Linked DNA regions of Homo sapiens: all the other regions are linked to region 3. Evidence: promoter capture Hi-C in 16 types of primary human blood cells and fetal thymus (Javierre and others, 2016). All regions are on one chromosome and are shown on one strand. The core of a region is centred on a gene start or on the middle of the fragment in contact, and the rest is flanking DNA. Distances in the headings are between cores, read along the strand shown. Region 1 has its middle 12 kb from the start of ANXA1. Region 2 has its middle 31 kb from the start of ANXA1. Region 3 holds the start of ZFAND5 (zinc finger AN1-type containing 5). Region 4 overlaps LOC105376081 (a long non-coding RNA gene). Region 5 overlaps CEMIP2 (cell migration inducing hyaluronidase 2). Region 6 overlaps ANXA1 (annexin A1). Region 7 has its middle 26 kb from the start of ANXA1.

What was found. Contacts are between HindIII fragments. The CHiCAGO score rates a contact against its expected background, and 5 or more counts as called.
Region 1: a contact is called between a fragment that was not itself captured here and the fragment with the promoter of ZFAND5 in region 3, in 5 of 17 cell types (neutrophils, naive CD4 T cells, naive CD8 T cells and 2 more). The highest score is 8.1, in neutrophils.
Region 2: a contact is called between a fragment that was not itself captured here and the fragment with the promoter of ZFAND5 in region 3, in 6 of 17 cell types (total CD4 T cells, naive CD8 T cells, neutrophils and 3 more). The highest score is 7.6, in total CD4 T cells.
Region 4: a contact is called between a fragment that was not itself captured here and the fragment with the promoter of ZFAND5 in region 3, in 1 of 17 cell types (total CD4 T cells). The highest score is 5.2, in total CD4 T cells.
Region 5: a contact is called between a fragment that was not itself captured here and the fragment with the promoter of ZFAND5 in region 3, in 1 of 17 cell types (total CD8 T cells). The highest score is 5.9, in total CD8 T cells.
Region 6: a contact is called between a fragment that was not itself captured here and the fragment with the promoter of ZFAND5 in region 3, in 3 of 17 cell types (total CD8 T cells, naive CD8 T cells and activated CD4 T cells). The highest score is 10.5, in total CD8 T cells.
Region 7: a contact is called between a fragment that was not itself captured here and the fragment with the promoter of ZFAND5 in region 3, in 1 of 17 cell types (activated CD4 T cells). The highest score is 5.6, in activated CD4 T cells.

Annotation. Positions count from the first base shown.
Region 1 is chr9:73,138,721-73,141,837 of GRCh38, reverse strand. No RefSeq gene overlaps it. Among named protein-coding and RNA genes, the nearest start is that of ANXA1, 12 kb to the left of the region's middle. The HindIII fragment of the contact is 5,813 bases long and covers 1-3,117 here.
Region 2 is chr9:73,118,883-73,121,928 of GRCh38, reverse strand. No RefSeq gene overlaps it. Among named protein-coding and RNA genes, the nearest start is that of ANXA1, 31 kb to the left of the region's middle. The HindIII fragment of the contact is 5,368 bases long and covers 1-3,046 here.
Region 3 is chr9:72,363,299-72,366,481 of GRCh38, reverse strand. ZFAND5 (zinc finger AN1-type containing 5) reads left to right here and starts at 1,274. Exons shown (of 7, transcript NM_001102420.3): 1 at 1,274-1,786; 2 at 2,876-3,012. RefSeq lists silencers at 1,036-1,415, 1,426-2,255 and enhancers at 863-1,567, 1,568-2,271. The HindIII fragment of the contact is 8,298 bases long and covers 1-3,183 here.
Region 4 is chr9:73,100,865-73,103,703 of GRCh38, reverse strand. The region is part of intron 2 of LOC105376081 (a long non-coding RNA gene); the gene reads left to right. Among named protein-coding and RNA genes, the nearest start is that of ANXA1, 50 kb to the left of the region's middle. The HindIII fragment of the contact is 1,449 bases long and covers 596-2,044 here.
Region 5 is chr9:71,681,285-71,684,255 of GRCh38, reverse strand. CEMIP2 (cell migration inducing hyaluronidase 2) reads left to right here. Exons shown (of 24, transcript NM_013390.3): 24 at 1-890. Among named protein-coding and RNA genes, the nearest start is that of CEMIP2, 86 kb to the left of the region's middle. The HindIII fragment of the contact is 381 bases long and covers 1,360-1,740 here.
Region 6 is chr9:73,156,177-73,159,280 of GRCh38, reverse strand. ANXA1 (annexin A1) reads right to left here. Exons shown (of 13, transcript NM_000700.3): 2 at 680-759; 3 at 478-586. The coding sequence starts at 745. Among named protein-coding and RNA genes, the nearest start is that of ANXA1, 5.9 kb to the right of the region's middle. The HindIII fragment of the contact is 213 bases long and covers 1,383-1,595 here.
Region 7 is chr9:73,176,235-73,179,178 of GRCh38, reverse strand. No RefSeq gene overlaps it. Among named protein-coding and RNA genes, the nearest start is that of ANXA1, 26 kb to the right of the region's middle. The HindIII fragment of the contact is 1,549 bases long and covers 909-2,457 here.

The sequences.
Region 1 (3,117 bases), core at 312-2,811, 780 kb before region 3:
CATTCTTCGAGTTTCTGATAAGCCTTTCCAAAGGAGGCAATCAGAATACACAACTATCTCAGAGAGCAGATGACTTGAATAGAATGGGAGGAAGGTTTGTCCTGAGCAGTTCCCAGCTTGACTTTTCCCTTAGCTTAGTAATTTGGGGGCCCCAAGATTTTCCTTTCACAGTAGTATTATTGATTTGTATTTTTAAATATAAATTCCCCAGATTAGTCAGGGTTACTAGCATAGAAGCTGAATTGCAACAAATTTAGTCAGAAAGGGGGAAATGTACTGGAAAATTACTGGAGTATATTTTGTAACTCCACATTTAGACTTGGCTCTCAGACTCTTTTGGAACCAGGAATTTGAATCTTGCTAGAAGTTTCTTTTTCTTTCTCTTATCTCTGCATTTATCAGACTAGTTTTTCTCATCATGGTAGCAACATGACAGCCAACATTCTTATCCTTACATCTCGCAGCTTCTTTATGAGGCAAGCATTGTTTCTTCCCCTGTTTGAGAAAATTAAAGTAAAAATCCTGTGCATGTGTATTGATTGATCTAGCTTGAGTCAGTGGTCTATACCTAAAACAATCCACTGAGGACATAGAGTTGATGATTGTGATGGGAAGACCTCAATAGAACCACGTGATTTGTTTTACCTAGAAGAAGATAAGGCTGTTCTTAACATCAGGGAGGAATACTTCTTAGACAAAATAATGGAAGTCGACAACATTCTTTCAGAAATGACATCCACTCACTGTCTTACTTGGAATCTCCAGTTTTATTATCTGAAAAGATTTCAAATCCGTAAAGTTTTATCTAAAATAAATTGTCTATATTTTCTTCCTGGTATTCCTAAAAAACATTATTCTGTAATCTAAGCAGTGAACTATGGTTAAAATGGAATTTCGAAAGAACATAAAAAGTAAGTACATTACTTCCATTGGGTAGCAACAGACACAGAATAAAGTCTTTTGTTGGTACTGACTTAATCTAAAAAAAAAATCTTACTATCAGCATAAATACCACCTCACGACTATTCCAGCACTAAAAGTAATTGGCTTAATTCTTTATGCATGTGATGTTTTTGCAAAAGTGGTGAATCATGTAACTACTTGTCATAATCAACTATAACATGACAAAATTTGAAAATATAAATAAGGCCTATCTTTTTATAATGCTCATAAATCCTCATTTTGTTTCATTTATACCTATTCTATATGAAATATCATGAAGTTAGGCAACCATAGTTTATTTTATGACAATGTACAACCATGAATGTGATCTTTTTGTGAGTCTTTCATTTTTGTTAACGCTGAACATAGCCCTTTTCATTTGTATAGCACTTCACTATTTATGAAGTCCCATTATATAAATTTCTCATTTTGTCATGGTTGACTGCCAGGTACTTTTTAAAGCCCAGCTCAATCATAACATAATGTAAAATACCATTTGGGCTAGATTGATGGACTTTGAATAAGGTGTGCTTCTTTGAATAACTATGGCTACTGAGAATCAGAAACAAAATAAAGATTAGATCTGAATTTTTATGACCTTCCATAAAATGTACATTCAACTAGATAGCCCCCCAAAGGTAGCAAATTTGAGAGGAGAACTTATTAAAATTATGTTCAGTTGGAAATTTCGTGACTGGTTTTGAAGATTTCTCCAGTCTCTACCAGTTTACTGCTTAGTTTGGAGGTCCATTTGTAGTCAGAGAAGATGAGGAGTGTCCAATTAAAGGTTGCAATCTACCTCAAAGTTCTAGAAGGTCCATAGAGACATAAAGTATATAGAGACAGAGAGTACTTGGGAATGTCCATTTTTTTACGCTTAGGAAAAGGACCATTTCTCATCTGGAAACTGAGATTTATGTTCAGCGGAGTTCTTATAATCTACACTTAAGTCAATAGTGTATTTACCGAAGGTATTAATTCAAATCACTTTTTGGTTATAACTCTAACCAATATATATGTCATTGATGGCTCCAAAAGAAGGTTTGATTCAGGTTTTAGACAATAGAACGAAATTGCCCTAAGCCTTGGCAGATCGGTATGCAATATTACATTTATATTTTCTTCAAGAGAAAAACAAAATCTAAATCAAAAACATTCATTTTAAGAAATCAGGAAGACATTGTTCCATTAAAATATAATGTATTCTTTCTATGAAGACTGGCACCTTGCTTTTCTTTCTTTTCACATATTACTGAGAACATTAATCAATATCCTCCAATTTAAATCAATATTAAAATCTTCTTTCTCTCCTAATAGTTGATCTTGTCTTATTATTTTTTTGCTGCCTGAAATAATGATTCTCTTTCACATATATCCATTGCACTGGTATAAAGGGAATTATGATTTCAGAATTATGGTTCTACCTAAAACTGGATGTATGTATGTGTGTGCATGTATTCTATCAATGCTGAAAATGTACATAAAAATATGTATAGCAAAACAATAAAATCTTTCCTACTTCTAATTTGTCAGTTTAAGCAAACACCATGTTCTTTAGGAGCCTGTTTTCCTAGCTCTGTACCTATTTTCAAATGAAATCATGTTTTCCAGGTACAGGGAGTAACTATTTCCATCATTTCTAAGAACACAGAACACAAAATTCATAAAGTACAAATAAAAGTTTCTTCACGTGTCTTAGTATCTAAACAGAACTAAAAATGGGAAGACAGCATATTTAATTTCTTTCTTCCTTTTCAATTTGCAGTTAAGGCTAAAATGGTGATGACTTGTCTTTTCCCTTCCCATTCTGTACCCTCAGCTTCACATATATCCTCAGCCTAATGAAACCAGTTTCTCTACAATTTTCAAAATGCTCTTGACTCTCATTTATGCACAATTGCTCATCCTGTTCCCAGTAAATATGGTCCTCTCATTTTTCTATAAATTTTTGCATTTATGAAAGCCCAGTTGCAACTCACATGATATATTTCTTAACTTTCTCATTCAGTTTTTTGAGTAACCTTATTCTTATTTATATTAATATTTAATGCTTCCATATTCTTAGAAACTTCATTAGAGCATCTGACGTGTTTTTAATGCCTCTTTGAACCTCAGAACTATCATGTTGGAAATTATTACCATTTCCATTTTTCTGATGATAAACAAGAACTGAAA
Region 2 (3,046 bases), core at 241-2,740, 760 kb before region 3:
CATAATCTATGTAACCTGAAGCAGACTGCCAGGAAGTTTCAAGAACCTGTCAGGTGGCAGAATCAGAGGGCACAGCTGACTAGCAATAATCTGAGGGGATACAAAGGCAGGTATGAGTCTATTTGAAGCTGGGAATGTTACAACCAGGAAAGAGAAGATGGAGCTAGAACAATTCATATTCCCTTACTTATGCAAATTCAGAAGCCACTGTTGAGTCAAACCAGGCATGAACAGTCACCCACTACCTTGAAAAAAATTCCGGAGAAGTTAAGGAAACAATTATGTTAAGTAAGGAAGAGAGAGTCACTAAAGCAAACTCAAAAGGGAAACAACCCAAGTCAAAGCAGGAGAAATATTGGTGGTTGCAAAGTAGCAAAAGAAACAAATATACAGGGTCCATATGACCTTGTGTTAGACACTGTATTGCTCCATCCCATTTGTATTCTTTTTTATTTTACACATAAAGGCCATCAGCATACCTTTATAAATTCTTAGAATTATGACATATAATTTAAGTTGCCCAAATACCTCAGATCAGATTGATATGAGACAATTGGGAAATTGATTAAGTAGTATATTATTTTTATTGCTAAGTCATGACAGCAACCACCACTTGACTGGTAGAAAGTAATGCCCATGAAAGTGCATGGTCACTTAAAAAGCATCTCATATGTACTCGAAGTCAGTTTTCGGCTACAATAAGGATATGGGGCCTGTAGCCAGTACTGTGCTAGAGTGGCTTCCTAGCAGCTCAGCAGATCCAGTTGTGCACATTTCTTCCCAAATCCCCAAATCCAAGCTCAGTGATTGTTGGTAACTTGAAATTGGCTGTGGTAGAAAACATGACAAGCTAGGGCTTTTCCCTAACCTTGGTGAGGGGTTGTTAAATATTACCAACATGCCACTATGTCTGTCCTGGTGTTTCTTTCCACCAGGTCTCATTTGTGGTTTAATTCTACTATTCATGAAGACCTTTGAGAAAGCCTTACCATTGCCACTCATCATCATGAGTTCAATAGTTGTGCCAATAGTATTGTTTCCAGATGCTTTCGTAGCTTCCAGTCTTGGAGTTGCCAAAATATTCCTGGATTCCATGCAGAGATAGGGAAAACAGTTTACCTCAACTCCTCATTTTTACACGTGGGCTCTGAAATCTCTTTATATTCATCCCCTGGTTTCTCACTGTATCTTACTGACTTCTCCATGTTGTCTCAAAATGAATCCAATGAACCATGTAAGAGATAGACATTATTCCAACTTTGATTTGTTTTACTACTTAAGGTCCTCCTGCCAACCTCCAAAATATGTTTCTTCTTCCCCAAGAAAGCATTCACATATATCAGTAAATGAAAACAATGTCGAATGTATGAGCCTATGGGTAAACAAGAAGAGAAGAAATGCTGTCTGATAAGAGGGGCGCATGGAGTCCAGCTTAGCCAAAAATCAACCATGCCATTTAACTGTTTTAATTGTATAATTTGCTAGATGTTTCTGTTTTTCCTCCTTTCTCAAATTGACTCTACACAATTTTTTACCCTGCTGTGTATTCTGGAGAATTGATATTTAGGGGCTACCTTGATGGCTTCCTTTCTCTCTAACCTCCTGTTGAGTTTGGCCAAAGGAAGGCACAAGCAGGAGATTTGGAGATTTTAGTTGAATGGCCTTCTCCATATAGCTGCTCTCTCTGGGCTATGATAACTGTTCTTTCCCTGGTCTTTCCGGCCTGTGGTTAGTAATAGCTCCTTGCTAGCACTAGTCCTTGGACACAGTACTGTTCTTCATTGTTTTTGGAAAAACCCCATCCCATACCTTTAAGAAATTCTCTCTATAGAAATCTCATCAATTATCCTGTTTCAGTATGTCATTCCTTATTCTGTTGGAATCCTGGATGATACTTCAATTAACCTAAGTCATAGCCCATGAAGCTCAATATTCTTTTCACTAAAGGTATTTCTATTTAGTATATTTATGAATCATACTTATGGTGCTTCAACTATGAAAAAAATTTTAAAATCATTCTGCCAAAGAAGGCTGTTTATTTGACCCTAAATATTGTACATCTACCCTACCTGCAATTTCATTAGATCTTTTCAGAGTGTTTCAATTTTTTTTTTTTTTTCTTGAGATGGAACCTCGCTCTGTCGCCGAGGCTGGAGTGCAGTGGCGCGATCTTGGCTCACCGCCAGCTCCATCTCCTGGGTTCACGCCATTCTCCTGCCTCAGCCTCCCGAGTAGCTGGGACTACAGGCGACCGCCACCACGCCTGGCTAATTTTGTTGTATTTTTAGTAGAGACGGGGTTTCACCGTGTTAGCCAGGATGGTCTTTCTAAATGAATAACTCCTCTTGAAGTAAGTATTTGAAGAGAAAATCAAGGATAACGGAGGAACATGGAGCACATTGAATCTTGTAATACATATAACACATTGGTTTGACATATATTGATATGAGAAAGAAACCCAGCAGTTTTATCAGAGTATTAAATATGTAGTAATGCATTGGAAAAAATAGGCTCCATCTCCTCAACATTGTCTCTGGGTTCTTTTACATTTAAGTGAAAACTTGATTGTGCAATCTGAGTTTAATGTAGGTGCTAGAAAATCCACTCATATTATCAGGATCTTGAAGCTCACATTACTGGGTTGAAAAGTTTCCAGAAAAAGATTTTCCTACCCATTAATGAAAACCAACAATTGGAATAATTCAAATCAAGAATTAACCAGGATACATTTAAGCTGTCTAATCCTCGAATCCCCTAGGCAATCCTGAGTCATTCAGCTACCTAAGGTGCTGCTCCAATGATCAAGCAGTTTCCAGAGTGAGAAAGGGCGCCCTTGCCCTGACCTGCAACTGGAAGACTGGGAGAAAGGTTACGTTATATGAATGATTCATATGAAAATGTGGGAAGGAACTGCTGTATCATTTTATCATATTCCAGTGATGACATAGTTTGTAAAACATATGTTTTCTACTATGAGGGAAATGTTAACTTAAAATTTCCTATTTTTACAATATAATTTCTATTGTTTTACCTATTGGCTCTGATG
Region 3 (3,183 bases), core at 25-2,524:
AGTGGTGGCTCAAGCTATCAGTATAGCATTCCCCCAAATACAGATTATAAATAAGGACCACCTGAAGCGCAATATGGGCCCCCCCCCACCCCCGCTCCCACCCCGGAACAACCAAAACCATATCCAGGGGAGATGCGTAGGAATCTTTAATCACCCCAGGTGATTTTTTTTCTGATTACCAACTTTGAGAAACACTGAAGGGACCTCTTCTCCATTCTATATGTGGCTAATATAAACCCTAAACATCATTTCTATGTATTCGTTAGACCGTTGTTTACTAGAAAATTTCAGAAGTCCTTTCCGACTTAGTAATTTTGTTATTTTGAGTTGAACTGAAATTCACTTGGAGCGGTCAGTTGAAAATGTTTTTTGTTTGTGCTCTGAAAAGGTTCCCAGTGTTCCGGGTAAAGTCATCCTTTCACCCATGGGGGACCTGTGCCTCGTGCCTGAACTGCCCGCCTAGTACCTCCCCCCTTGAACTTCCTCTCGCAAGCCTCCTCCTCCCGCTTCATCTGGGCCTCGGGTCTAGCTTGTTTTGTCCCTTCGCGGCTTTTGAGTAGAACATTTGGTGCTTTCCCAGTTCACGACGCTTTGCTGGAATCGTCAATTTCCAGGGATTTCACAGGCTGGCCAAAACAGTTTGTTCAGAACAGCGCCGCCGGGGCATTGGCAGCCCTGGGCGGCCGCGCGTTTCCTCACTCCGCACAACCACCCGTGACCTTGGGCGAGCGAACGCACGCCGCCAGCTGCGTCAGGGCCACGCTCGGGCTGGACTTCGGAGCTCAAAATGGGTGTGGGGAGTGAGGAGGTTTCATAAACAGAAAAGACCTCGAAGCCATAAGGCAATTCTTTTCCTTTTCTGGGGGTGAATCCTTACGATTCTTGGGGGAGGGAATGTCTGCCCAGGGCTGGAGACAAAGCGTGAGAACTAGGATGGCGAAAAACGGGTTTGAATGAGAAAATCCGAAGGAGGGAGGCTGAGGGCGGACAATTGGGTTAAAAATAGAAACGCATCCTCCACAGGACTCGCTCTTCCCAGCTCCACCCTAGGGGCCGACTGCCAGGCCAGTGGCTGGGCTCCGCGAGAAGGCACAGCAACCCGTCTCGGCCCCGCCTCCTGGACCTACTGACAGGGCACCGGGGGCGTGGCCTTGGGCCCGCGACGTCACCGCGCTCCCCGCCGCCGCCGCCGCCGCCGGGGTTTTCGCTGACGCACGGGTCCCGCCCCCTCCCCCTCTTTTCCCTCACAGCCCGGGCGCCGGGCGGCGAGTGCGTTAGTCGGCCGGGACGCGGAGCTGTGTGCATCTCCTACGCGGGCTCGCTCGCTCCCGGGAGCCGCGCAGCTTCCCCGGCGGTGGCAGGAGCGGCGAAGAGCGCCATCAGCGGGCCCTTACGGCCCCAGGCCTCGCGGCGCGCGGTCCGCTCGCCCTCCTCGTCCGCCCAACCTGCGGCCTGTGGAGGCGTGAGGCGACGACAGGCGAGCGCCTCGAGCAGCGTTAGCCGCTGCGGCCGCCGGTCCTCCCTCCACCTCCTCCTCGGCCCCCCCTCGCTTCCCTCCTCCCACTTCCCGAGCTCCGGCGTGTCCCGGCCACGCTCGACGCTGCTGCAGGAACAAAGGAAGACCCCGCGGCGGCGGCGGCGCCACCTCCGCCTGCTGCTCCGACCCGCTCCCGGCCCGCGGCGGCGGCACCAGGGCGCCCGGCTCAGCCTTCCCGGAGGCCTCGGCCCGGCCTCATCGTGCCGGCTTCGCGCGCGAACCCGGCTTTCGCATTTGGGACCCTGCAGGGTGAGTGATACGGGGCTGCGGGTGGGAGCCGGGCTCCTTGTTGCCGGGCCGGGGGCGGGAGTGAAGGGACCGGGGCGCCGCGGGCCAATGGCGAAGCCGGAGCAGGCCGCGGATGGCGGCGTCCGGGGGAGGGGAGCCCGCCCGCCAGCCCAGGAAGCACAAAGACGGAGGCGTCATCCTGTCGTCGTGGCCCGAGACCTGGCTCCCGGCGTCCCTGGCTCGCTCCACAGCACGGTCGGGAAACAATGCACGGCGTGCCGCCTCTGCGGGGCCGGCCTCTAGGCCGCTCGCCTCCGCGGCGGCGCCCGGCGTGGGCACCACGACCCAGAGAAACAAAGAGGCCGAGGCGGCGGCCGCGCCCCCTGCCCGTTGCAGCCCCCCCTAGCTCTCCCCTAAGAGGAGCCGTTCGGGGTCGGGGGTCGGGGGTCGGGGATCCGCGTGGGGCCTGCAGGCGAAGGGCTGGCCGGGCCTGCTGAGCTGCTGTTCTGCATGACTCAGTGGTTTTCGGAGAGGGCCCTGTTGGGCTTTATTGAGTGAGGCCTTTGCTTAGAGGGGGATGGGGTATCAGTGGGACCCGAACTTGTTCCAAAATCCATTGGAACATGGGGCCGGGGGTTCTCGGCGTCGTCTTTTGGGCTTCTCGACGTCGCTGCGTTTTTATCCTGAGATCCGTTTTCATGGAGGAAATGGAACACCTCCTTTGTTTGGTGCATTTAGGCTGATGAATGTGAAATTTTTTGCTCGCTTTCCACGCACTCCGTGGAGGTGTGTTTTCGGGGAAGGGTCGGATTATCTTTATTGATTGAGTGTCTCCTAAGGGATAGCATCTAAGGAGATACCAAGATAAAGGAACATATAGGTCACACATCCCCGTTCTTAAACCTGGGATTTAGATACAGACTTCTAAAAACATAAACGAATGTATTTTATTCCTTATTTTTAGGATTTTTTTTAAAGAGTAGGCTTTCAGAACTCAGTTGGTGAAAATACTGCAATTTTATCTTTGAAGTTTTTTGTTAAAATGTTTCCCCACACCCCCCTAAAAAATTAAGGATTCTTTGTAGTTGTCTCCTGTTTTCTATCTCCCAGGCCCTGAAAAGGAGCCTTTAAAAGTCAATTCTACTCCATTTGGCAAAGAGGGAACTGAAATCTGGAAAGTAAGGACTTGCCCAAGGTCACTGACTTAGTGGCAGACTAGAGACTTGAACTCAGGTCTCCATTCCCAGGTGAGTGGGAATTCATGCCATCTCATCACATCATGTGCACCTGAAAGAACTGTATTCCATAGGTGTAAAAGCTCTTTGTTCAGAATTGGAATTGGAGAATTGTTCAGTTACACTCGGGTGTTTTTTTAAGCTGTAAGTTAGAGGAAGCCATAAACTTTATAAAATCTGCAT
Region 4 (2,839 bases), core at 71-2,570, 740 kb before region 3:
CTCATCAGATGGTTGAAATCCAGAGATAAAGAGAAAATCATGAAAGTAAGCGGAACAAAGAACAACAATACATCACACAGAAGGGAACACAATTCAAGTTCATGGAAAATCTTTAAAAATATTTATAAATTGGAAAGGTGGGAAAATTAAGTACTGAAAGAAAAAATAATTGACAACCCAGAATTCCATGTCCAGCAAAAAATCCCTCATAAGTGAAGGCAAAATAGTACATGTTTCAGATATCAGAAAACTAAGAGAATGTATTGTCCTTGTACATGCACCAGGAGAGATGCTGAAAGAAAGTTCTGAGGATGAAGAAAAAGTAGGTAGTAGAGAAAAATTCATATATTAAGGAAGAAAGAAAAAATCATTATAAATGATAAATATCTGGGTAAATTTAAAATATTATTTTTTCTCTGAATTTAAAAAAAATACATGTGACTATATACATACAACATTTTCTTGTGGGATCTTAATGTGCAAAGAAGCACAAGAAACTTGGGGTTAATTAAAATAATTCATACATTGTGTGTGGTGGTGGTTTTATGGATATATTGGTCTATTAAAATTAGTTGAATTGTATACTTTAAAAGCTTGCAGTTTTGGGGGGCATGTAAATCATATATAATAAAGTAACTTAACAAAAGATCCTGAGAAGAAGGGGCATGACAAGTTACAAATGCAATAGATGGCCAGTAAATAGTAATAGTAGGTGTGACTCTCATATGCTTTGCTTCCTTATGTTTTTCCTTGTATAGTTCCAGGAACTCTAAATGTAGGGAACTATGTCATAATATATCACTGTGGGAAGATTAATCAGAAAAATAATTAGTCCTTCAAATATGAGTACCTTTTTATTGTTATGAGGTAAAATTTAATTTATCCATCTAAAAATTAGAGTATGGATATTACGTATTTACTAAGCCCAAATATTTTACAGTCATTCATTCTTGATTCTTCTTTTATTTGGAATTTTAAAAGTGTAAGTTTAATTGTCAAAAATATATCTTAAATCCATCCATCTCTACATCCCCTACTCTGACCTGAGTCACCAACATCTGTAGTTGCTGCCTGGTAAACTACAACCACTTCTGAATGGTCTCCCCGCTCCTGTCTTGGCACAACCAATTTATTCATCACTCAGCAGTCACAGAGATCTGCTTTAACTCTGCCTAAACCCCTCCAATGGCTTTCAATGGACTGCAAGTAAAACCCATACTCTTTATTATTTCCTACAAGGCACTAAGTTGCCTGATCCAGGCCCTGTCATACTGCCTGAGCCTCTCTCTTTTACTCACTGAGATCTTGTCACACTAGCTCATAAGTTGCAAGATATTATCAACGTATTTCTTCCATCAGGGCCTTTTAGCTTTCTGTTCTCTCATCTGAAGCATTCTCTCTCACACTCACCTTCTCATTTTCAGCATGGTCAACTTCTATTCATTCTTCAAGATTCACTTCAAAAGTTGTTCCCACTGAGAAAACTCCTCTAACCAACCTTACCTAATCAGATCTCCCCAGTAATGTATACGCACAGTACTCTATTTACATCTTTGCTAATATTTATTACAATCTTTCAATTTTTTAACATATGTGTTCAGTCATTTGCTTCTATCCTTTTTCACTAGAATATAAACTTTATCAGACACACTGAGTCTTTTGTTCATCACTGCATTTTTTATTCTAAACTAAGTGTTCATCGTGTAGTAAATATTCAATAAATATTGAATGAATGAGAGTGGAACGATGTATAAGCAAATTAATAAATACACATTGGATCAATGCTGTTTGTAAACTAAATTCTATAATTTTTTATTCATGAAATATTAACAATGCTTTTTTAATGAAAATTTCTTATAAGTTTCTTCCCGATTCTTCCTCTTATATCAGCTGCCCAAGAACTGAAAGAAATTATGGTGGAGCTGGAAAAAGTCCAGGAAAATTTAAAACTTGCACATAGCCATCCAAATGCAACAGTATCCCCAGGGAAGATGATGTCCTGGGATTTGGATGTAGAAACAGAACAAGAGAATAAAAACAAGCTTACAAATGTAATCTTTTCTCATGGCTTTAGAATAACTAAAATAACTCTTAATAACATTAATCTGGTTACCTTCAAGTAAATATCCTTCGGATATTTGAGTTTCTGATGCACAAGGCAGTCCATTAACAAACTGAAACGACCATGTTGATTGACATCCAGAAGGAATATATTTGAAGACATTTATTTCATAGATACCAAAATGCATATTTGCCATTTTCTTTTATGGGTCTTTTTTTTTTTTGACTCATGAAGATTTAAGAAGCACTTCACAATGTCATGTTGAGATATAGATTCTGACTTTTAGATAAAGCACATTTTCTAGATAAGTAACTCACTAGATTCATATTGTGCCTTAGCTTGAGAATATTCAAAACTATAGATGCTGTATCATTGAAAGAGGAGACTATTCCCTCTGACTTTTGTAGAAAATGGCCTGACATGTATATTGCAATTTAAAGTTTTATTGAATCAATGATTATAATTAAGATAAAACATGATCTTGAGTGGTAATAACCAGACCTAATTTTAGGGTGAACAGCAGAGGAATAATGTAGCAAATGAAATAAAACCATCATTAACTTCATAAAAACTTTGAGTAGTATTTTGAAAGCCCTCAGAACCTGAAATAATTTTACATATATATTTATATGTGTATATATATATGTGTTGTGTGTGTGTGCGTATGTATATATAATGTTTTCATGATACTTGTGGCTAGCCAAGATCTAGGGAAAGAATACAATGGAAAAGTATCTTAAAATGTGTGTGTGTATGTGTGTGTGTGTGAAGAAACAA
Region 5 (2,971 bases), core at 301-2,800, 680 kb after region 3:
AGCTTTTCTGTTCACCCTCCTGCCAGGAAAATCCCAGAAAGCTTAATGATACCCCAAAATGATTACACCCAGGGAGGAAAAAAAGGAGCGCTTTCTAGGGTCAGAATCGTGGAGAGAATACTCAGAAATGAACCTCTTTAAAGCCTTGCAGGAATGAGTCACTCTTACTTAATGAAATGTTAAAGCCAATTAAAAAGCATGCTGTGATGCCCAGCTTCCCTTTCCACAGGGTGCATGCGTCTCCTGCTGGTGAATCACATGCGGCAAGAGGCAACTGGCTCCACAGCCTGGGATGCTGCCGTACCAAGAGGAAAGAAGCAGCAAAATGCCTTTACGTTGTTCTAAACCCCCGACGCATAAAGTGTAGAGGAGGGATGGCCAAGGGTGGGTGGTAGAAAGTGTGTTCAGGCTGACACTGGCAATGAGTACAGATAATTTCACTTTCCTCTTCTAGGGGCAAAGGCTGATGGCCTCTACCTTTGTATCCAGGAGAAACTGCAGAGCAGCCCTGTGACTTTACAAAATATGCTACCTCAAAGTGCTACCGATAAACCTTTCTAATTGTAAGTGCCCTTACTAAGGGCACATGTCTTAATCAAAGTTAGTTTTTTGTTTTCTGGTTTGTTTTTTTTTTTTGTATATTGATGAATGAGATCTTACCTATTAAATATATTATTGGATTATGGTTCCTGAAGGTCATTAGAGTGTGTGTGTGTGTGTGTGTGTGTGTGTGTGTTTTATGACTTAAATATCTTTACGTGTGTTTTTTAGAGCTTGGTTCTTTAAAGATTTGGAGAAGATATGTAAATTACCAAGGCACTTGGTTTTTCTGTTTTATATACTAATAATCAGGGCCTAAGTTAAATAAAAATATGTGTGCATGTATTTTATATATGTGTGTATGTGAATTTATTTATTATTTATTTTATTATTATTGTTATTATTTTTGAGATGGAGTCTCGCTCTGTCACCCAGGCTGGAGTGAGGTGATGCAGTCTCAGCTCGCTGCAACCTCCACCTCCCAGGTTCAAGTGATTCTCCTGCCTCAGCCTCCCAAGTAGCTGGGATTACAGGCACCCGCCACCATGCACTGCTAATTTTTGTATTTTTAGTAGAAGTGGGGTTTCACCGTGTTGGCCAGGCTGGTCTTGAACTCCTGACCTCAAGTGATACTCCTGCTTTGGCCTCCCAAAGTGCTAGCATTACAGGCATGAGCCACCGCGCCTGGCCTGTATGTGAATTTATATCTCTATCTATAAATTTAAAATTCCAGATTCCAGCTGTAAAGAAGTTACTGACGGAAGTGAGGAAGACACTTGGTGGACAGAATCCACCAAGTAAATATTGTAAGAGTAAGCTTCAGAAGGGCAGGGACTGTATTCTCCAAGGCAGAGGTTCTCCATCTTGGCTGCACACTGGAATTACCTGAGGAGCTTTAAAAAAAAATATAGAGGCCTGGACTTTACTCCCTTCCCCCCAGATTCAGATTTAATTGGTGTTGGGTGCAGCCTGAGCACTGGAATTTTTTTTAAAGCTCCCTGGATGATTCTAATATGCAGCCAGGTTTCGGAACCACGGCACTAATATAATAGGCCCACTGTTTAACTCCAGTCTGTAATTTTTTTGTGACTAAAACAAAATTGCATTTACCTATTATTTTTATTTGCATTTCCTATATTACTCACAAAACTCCCAGCCCTAAACAAAGCATTTCTCTATTGTCTCTTTTTAATAGAAGCTTTTAATACAGTTTTTAGTCCTCAGTCCTCTCAAATCATTAAATTGGTTCTATACACTGATATATACATTTCAGGGAATTGGGAGCTAGCAATCTGTTCTATTTCTACCAAGAAAATATATTCAAAGGTGATTTATAAGTTCATAAGCATTTTCCATCAGGTGAGGCAGTTGGTTGAGCTCCAAAAATGTGGTCGTCCACAAATCAGCCAGCTGACGAGCAACACAGAGGGCTCTCATGTATCCACAGACTAGGGTTTAAGTCTTTGCTGTGATTCCTGCCTCTCCACCTGAGTCAGCATGCCATATATTATCTTCAGAGGCTGGAAGAGAGTGCTGGCAAGAAGATGAAAGGCAGACGCACCATCTCATGGACTATGACTGCAAAGCAGCCTCTAAGCTGATGTTTAGACTCGGGGATGGGAAGAGAGGATTTATGACTCCTCTGTTCTCTAACTTCATCAAGAGACAACACATCCTCATGCCATTAAAGTGGGTTACTTTGTCTTGAGGAGGGGAAGGTAATGAAGTGACAGATCGAGGCTTGAGTGCTTTAGATAACTACAGTAGGTTTTCATTCCTTAAGAGATGAGGTCATGTTTGGATGTGTCTGGTTGAGAAGCATTTCAGTAAGAAGGAATGAGCTTAGTTAGTTCAAGTGTTTTTTTCTGTTGTTCCTAGTAGATAAACACAATACATAGATTCAATGATGACAATGTTTGTTAATTTCATCATGCAGAGTTGGAGCTTACTTCTGGAATTCTTATTTGGTTTCCAGATACTTATTAAACAATGTTTAATAACCTGAGAAATTCCCCTGGAGGTAAAGACCTTTAATAGGGCAGCAGATTTGTATCATTACTGTTAGTTATGATTACATTATTACTGTTATAACCCAGTGTGCTGGAAATGTGAGCAGACACTATTTAAGCTAGTTTTCAACAAAAGGTCATGGAGGGAAAAAAAATAAAGGAACTCCATTCCTGGTTCCTTGCTCACAAATGGCAAAATGCTGTTCACAGACTTGCTAGACCATTTGAGTCATTTGGAAGAGAAAAGGTTTTTTTGTTTTTCCCTTATTTATCTTCAATTTGAGAAAAAAACTAATAAAAGGATGCTTCAGTAGGCCCTGGTGTTGTGGATAAGGGCACGCACACTTTTTATTTTTATGTGGTAAATTTAGAGAATGACTGACTGAACTGTGATTTCTAAATGAGGAACTGTGCCCCACAGG
Region 6 (3,104 bases), core at 240-2,739, 790 kb before region 3:
AATTGACATAAAATAATTCATTACTGAGATGCTCCAAAAGAACTTCTTAACAAATTAAGAAATATAAATTATATATCAGCCTAAAAAATCGATGCTATACTACATATCAAGGAAGCACTTGGGAGAATGACATTTCATTCGAGTGAGAAAGGAAGAGACAATTAACTTTTCCTGGCCCTCAGTGTTGCAGTGTTTGATACTAGTTGCAACTCTATATGTGAACAGAGCTTTTAATTTCAGCATGGAATTTCTGCTAGAAATGAGCCAGTAATATCTGCTGTAACAATAGAGATTCCACTGATGTGAACACAATTTCCTCAGTGTTAAGTAAATAATTACATCTTCGTTTGGCAAAGAAATGTTTTTATCTTCAAAATGAAACAGATTCTTTCCATTGCACATGTCTGTTTTTTGACAGTCATTCAAATAGCCATTCTGAAATGTCCAGGAGGGAACTGTTTTGAGGAAACACGTTACCTTTAACCATTATGGCCTTATGCAAGGCAGCGACATCCGAGGATGGATTGAAGGTAGGATAGGGGCTCACCGCTGATCCGGGACCACCTTTGGATGACTTCACAGTTTGCTAAGAATGAGAGAGAAATAAATTAATGGCCATTTACTTATATTCGTTTTTATTTCAATATTGTAATCATAATTTTATTATCACTCTACTTACAACATATTCCTGCTCTTCATTTTCAATAAACCAGGCCTGCTTGAGGAATTCTGATACCATTGCCATTTTTGAAAAAGTGTCTGGAAAGAAAACAGTTAGATGCTTTTACAAAACAAATGCACCACACACAACCTCTCCTTCCTCACCTCTTACATACATAAGAGTTAGCATTAGAGAGTAGCCTTGCGCTTACTTTCCAGGATCAATTACACTTAGGAGCATAACAAAATGTAAGACGTAATTTTTTTTAAAGGAAGCTTTTATACTTAAAATGAAACCATACCCTCCTCTCTGAAATTGAACTCTTTCTTGGCATATTCAGTTCTAAATTTTAGAGATCAGACAACTACTACAAGTAAGCACACAGGCTGAAGAGAGGAGTTTGTGGTTCACTACATTGTTCTAAATTTGTAGACCACCCACCATATGCCAAGCACTAAGAGTACAAAAACATTGAAATATCATCTTAAGTACCCTCAGGACTTAAAGCTAGTGTGTGCTCTCCATAGGAAAACATAAGGGCTAAAGAAACTTCTTAGAGTAGGCCCTGGCTGACCCAAGCCTCTCTTGAAATGAGTCAAGATTAACCTGGCAGAAAAGTTAAAGAAGAAGCTTGTCATATTTGGGAAGCAGAAGAAAGTTTGCTGGAGCGAGAAATGTTGGCAGAAGCTGAAACAAGAAGCTTCAATGTGTCCACAAAGCTTTGGGAAAACATTAATGGGTTTCTTTTTGTTTGTTTGTTTTTTTAAAGCAGCATGGTTTCATTTATGTTTCCGAAAGACCATTCATCCTTTATCATGGAGAATGGCTAAGAGATAGACAAGATGGAGGATTAGAATACTATTTAGTAGACCATTAGACCATCTATGTGGAATTAATGAGAGCCTGTACAAAAGTAATGGCTAGATGAAAAGCTTAATGATTGCTTTTTTTTTTTTTTTTTTTTTTGAGATGGAGTCTTTCTCTGTCGCCCAGGCTGGAGTGCAGTGGTGAAATCTCGACTCACTGCAACCTCCGTCTCCTGGGTTCAAGCAATTCTCCTGCCTCAGCCTCCTGAGTAGCTGGGATTACAGGCACCAGCCACCACGCCCGGCTAATTTTTGTATTTTTAGTAGAGACAGGTTTTCACCATGTTGGCTAGGCTGATTTTGAACTCATGACCCCAAGTGATCTGCCCGCCTCGGCCTCCCAAAGTGCTGGAATTACAGGTGTGAGCTACCACTCCCAGCCAATGATTACATTTATAAGGTAAAATAACTTGTGCCAATCTGTACAAGTGAATTCAGATTTAAAATTTTAATTGTAAAAAGATATCCAGGTGATATTTCTCCCTGAATAATTTAGTTTCCTTTTCTATTTCTTGATATAAAAGTACTCAGCATTGAAGTAATTGCTATCTTCACATTTCTTCCTATTTGAGCTGTCTAAATAGTAGTCCTACATATTTTCCCACCCAACACAAAAAACCCAGAAAAGAATTATTTTATACTGGATTTTTTTGTTGTAGCAGGAAGCCTAGAGGTGCAATTGTAACATGCATGTTCTTTTGGCAAACTCTATCTTAAAGGAAATTTCTTGAATTGCTATCATGACTTGGCAATATTTTTATTTAATGAGACATATATTTTTAAGATCTTAAGTATATTGAAAATTAATGTGTTCTCTGTTTTGGCCACACACACACAAAATGCCATCACAGATCCTTTTAGTCTGGGGATGTTTTTCAGAGGCCTTGCTCAAGGTCTACACTGATCTGTCTATCTACACCATTCTGTTTCACCCCTCTAGAGACTACTCTCATGAATGTTTGTGAGAGAGGTTGGGAGGACAATCTTGGCAGTTTTAAATTCTTGATATGAAGATAAATGACTCATGAGGCATAAACTGATTCCATAAACTGATTCCTCAACAGCATGTTCAGACAAACTCTTTCCATTTTCACCTGCTAAAAAGTAACTGGAGTTGCAAGTAATAACACTGAATGCATGAAGAAAATAATATCCAAAGCAGAAATCATCCCCACTTAATTCGCATGGGATTGCTCTTATTACTATTCTGTCATCTGTGAGAAGAACCAATACTTTTTCCATTCATTTAAAGCAGCCTGTTTCCTAAATATAATTGATAGACTTAAAATTGCTTCCTGATAAAGTAACAACCCGCAATTTTGCACAAGGTTTTAGTTCCCATTACAGTCTAGTTTCATGCAATTGCGGTTGCCACATGGAGTTTCATATTCCACCTTCTTAATTGGCACACCCAATACTTTAAAAGCAATTCTAGCAGCTTCAGGCACTCAAAATTTCCATTTTCATCATTTCATCCAAGGCTTTGATAAGGAAGAATCATCAAAATGAGTGTTAAAATTCATCACTTGGCAAAGTACTACTCCATCACTTATAAAAACATGTTTTTATTATTTATT
Region 7 (2,944 bases), core at 434-2,933, 810 kb before region 3:
TGCCCAAGGCAGTTATTTCTTGTATTAAAATAATAAGAATGTGAGAGCCATGGCTTTCTTTTTTAAAGTAACAATGATCTACGAATTTTCATAGCCACTCTATGGAAGATATTGCAAATGAAGTACAAGGAATGTGATTAAATATATTATTGTCCTTTATACAGGGATAATAGTGTTTCCTCTAAATGGTTCCAACGATCTCTCTGTTCTTCTCCAAATCATCTAAGACCTCATTACTCACCCTTTGAAAGGTAGTCTAATTACTGTTGCTTTGAAACTGAGCCTGTAACTTGCTTGTAACCAAAAGAATGTGACACAAATCATTTGTGATTTGTGAGACTAGGTGGCAGAAGATGGTGTAGCATCTGCCTTGGTAGCTGGAACACTTGTATTGAAGCCCTGGGCTGCTGCCTCAGTGGGCTTACTTCCCTGAGACTGTCATGCAGGGAGAACGCTGAATCTAGTCTCCTTGGACAGGCCCTGAGATTATTATATAAAGAAAGAGCTGCCTGGCCAGCCCTCAGCTGCTCCATCCTCCATTTTCAGCTTCAGCCACCATTTGACTGCAATTGCAAGTGATTCCTGTAGCCAGAACCACCTGTCAGGAAGAGATAGATTTGGATATATTTCCCTGCAGAGGTCTTGGTGACAGCAGAGTGGTGGTCTCCTGATTAGGATGTGTGAGCAATGAGAAAATGGCTGTACGTTTGTTTCCCTCTGCTTCTTGTACTTCGTAACTCCTAAATTTCTTGCCTAGTTCTCAACCTGGGCTTCCAATCCTCCACCCACTCTGAGTCCTTTACTCCAACACTCTTAGATGCTTCTATAAGTTCCTCTTTCATAAGTCCGCTCATCAGTTTCTCTTGCTTGCAACCAAGGACTCAACTGCTATTCCTCACATTTAAGCTTTTAGAGGCCTATTGATTCGTATCAGCATACTCACATAATCACCTAGTTCTGTTTCTGAGTAAAAGGATTAGTTTAAGGTGCCACTTAGTCATCACTTTTAGAACTGTATAAAATTTTTGGCTAAGTACCTAAATTATTTTCTCAAATTATCAGATGTCCTATAAGAAAGCATTTTGAATGTTTTCATAAAAGTATTCATGTTTCTATAAATTAAAAGACAATACAGGTTGCAATTAGGTGTCACTAGATTAAAAAAAACAAAAGACAAATTTCATTCAACAAATAGAGGGTGAAACAGCTTTGCTTAGTTAACATTCATTCCCAGAGCTCTTTGTGTGTCACAATGAATACATAAATAACAATACAACTTTCAATTTACAGAAAGTCAAGAAAGCCTAATCTTTGGTTTGTGAATGTGGAAGAATGAAGGAACGTAGACCAAACAGCAGATATAGGTAACACATACATTATTGAAGGAGTTTTAGAAATAGTAGTGTTAGATTAGTGATTCTTTAAACCCAGTGTTCAAGTGAATGTAAAAGGGACATTCCAGGGGACCAGAAGAAAGCTGTGTCCATGATGCTCCCATGGTGCTTTCCCGATCTTTCAGGTCCTATTTTGCTCTCAATCTGTCTCACATCAGTCTGGATCTTGTCTATGCTCAGACCTTCAATAGAGTTTAGCAATGATGTTCATTCAGCTCATCTTATGATTAGCAAAAAAGCAAAATGCTGAAAACAAATGCTCCCTGTCAATTAGGGCTATTTTGAAATGGTAGAACCACTCCATCCCTAAGAGATTTTACAGAAGCATGCTAGTCCTTGAGGTAAAGCAACTTTCCTGCTGCAGTTGTGGCCCTGGTGTCTTCTCTAGAATGGATCTTTTCCCCAACATGTTGGACTAACCAAGAAAAGAGAGCTAGAGAGACCGTATGACACAGCAGTGCTCCAGTCTTGTATCCTTGGTATTCGAGTATAATTCTTGATGTCCACCAAATGCCTTAGCATAAAGAATAAGCACTTTGAGCTAACCTGTAATAGCACAAGCTATCATTTTTTGTCATAATTTTACTAAGTGCTAGCTATTGTACCAGACAATAGCAATACAACAATAAAAGGCAAAAAAAAAGAAGAAAGAAAAGAAATAGTCTATGCAAACAACCTGTTCATATTCTAGAAGAAGTGACAAATATTAACTAAATAATCGCTTAAATATAAAATTACAACTCTGGCATTTAATATAGTACAGAGATATGTAGTGTTAAAAGGGTCTATGAGATATTTGAGCTGATATTTGAAGAATTAGCAAAGTTAACAAGAATGAAATGAGAAAAATATAGTGTTTAGGCTGAGGAAGTCCAAAGCCCTTGAGACAGGAGGAAGCATAGACAGAGTAAGGCTTGTAGAAGGCCAGTGCAGGGGAATACAGAGAGTGCTGAAAAGTATGCCGCCCAAAGAAGATGGAGAGCTGGGGGGGAAGCCACGCCCTACTGGCACTAAGCTGAGTGACTAAGGAGACTGGCATTTTGTGGAATCACAAACAAAAGCTTCTCAGTATTGTAAGGTGCCACCCAAGGGGTTGCATGGGGTAACCACATTAACATTTGCCATCTGGGCAGAGCAAAATACGTGTGACAAAATATAGACATTAGTCACTCAGCTTAGTGCCAGTATTGAACTGGCAAGGCTCACACTTGCCCCTGGTAAGGCTCTGTCATCTTTAATCCATTCAAAGTGGATTAAAGAAGTTTCAACACGTGGTCTCTGGGAAAGATGGCTGCCCTGAGTAAAAGAAAAGATAGGAAAGGGAAAGGAGAGAAAGAGAGAGAAAAGCATAGCCTGTGATGAGGTAGGGAAGGCAAGTAGCTCAGGAAGGCCAGAGAAAGACCCACCCATTGTAGCAACACTGAATCAAAAGTTCAGGCGGTCGCTTGACAGTTGTGAAGGGATCTTTTCCAGGGGTCCTATCAGCTCTCAAGTTTCCCCCTTTGGGGAGGAAAAAGCTCCCCATGTCCCATGATCCTGTACACGCCTAA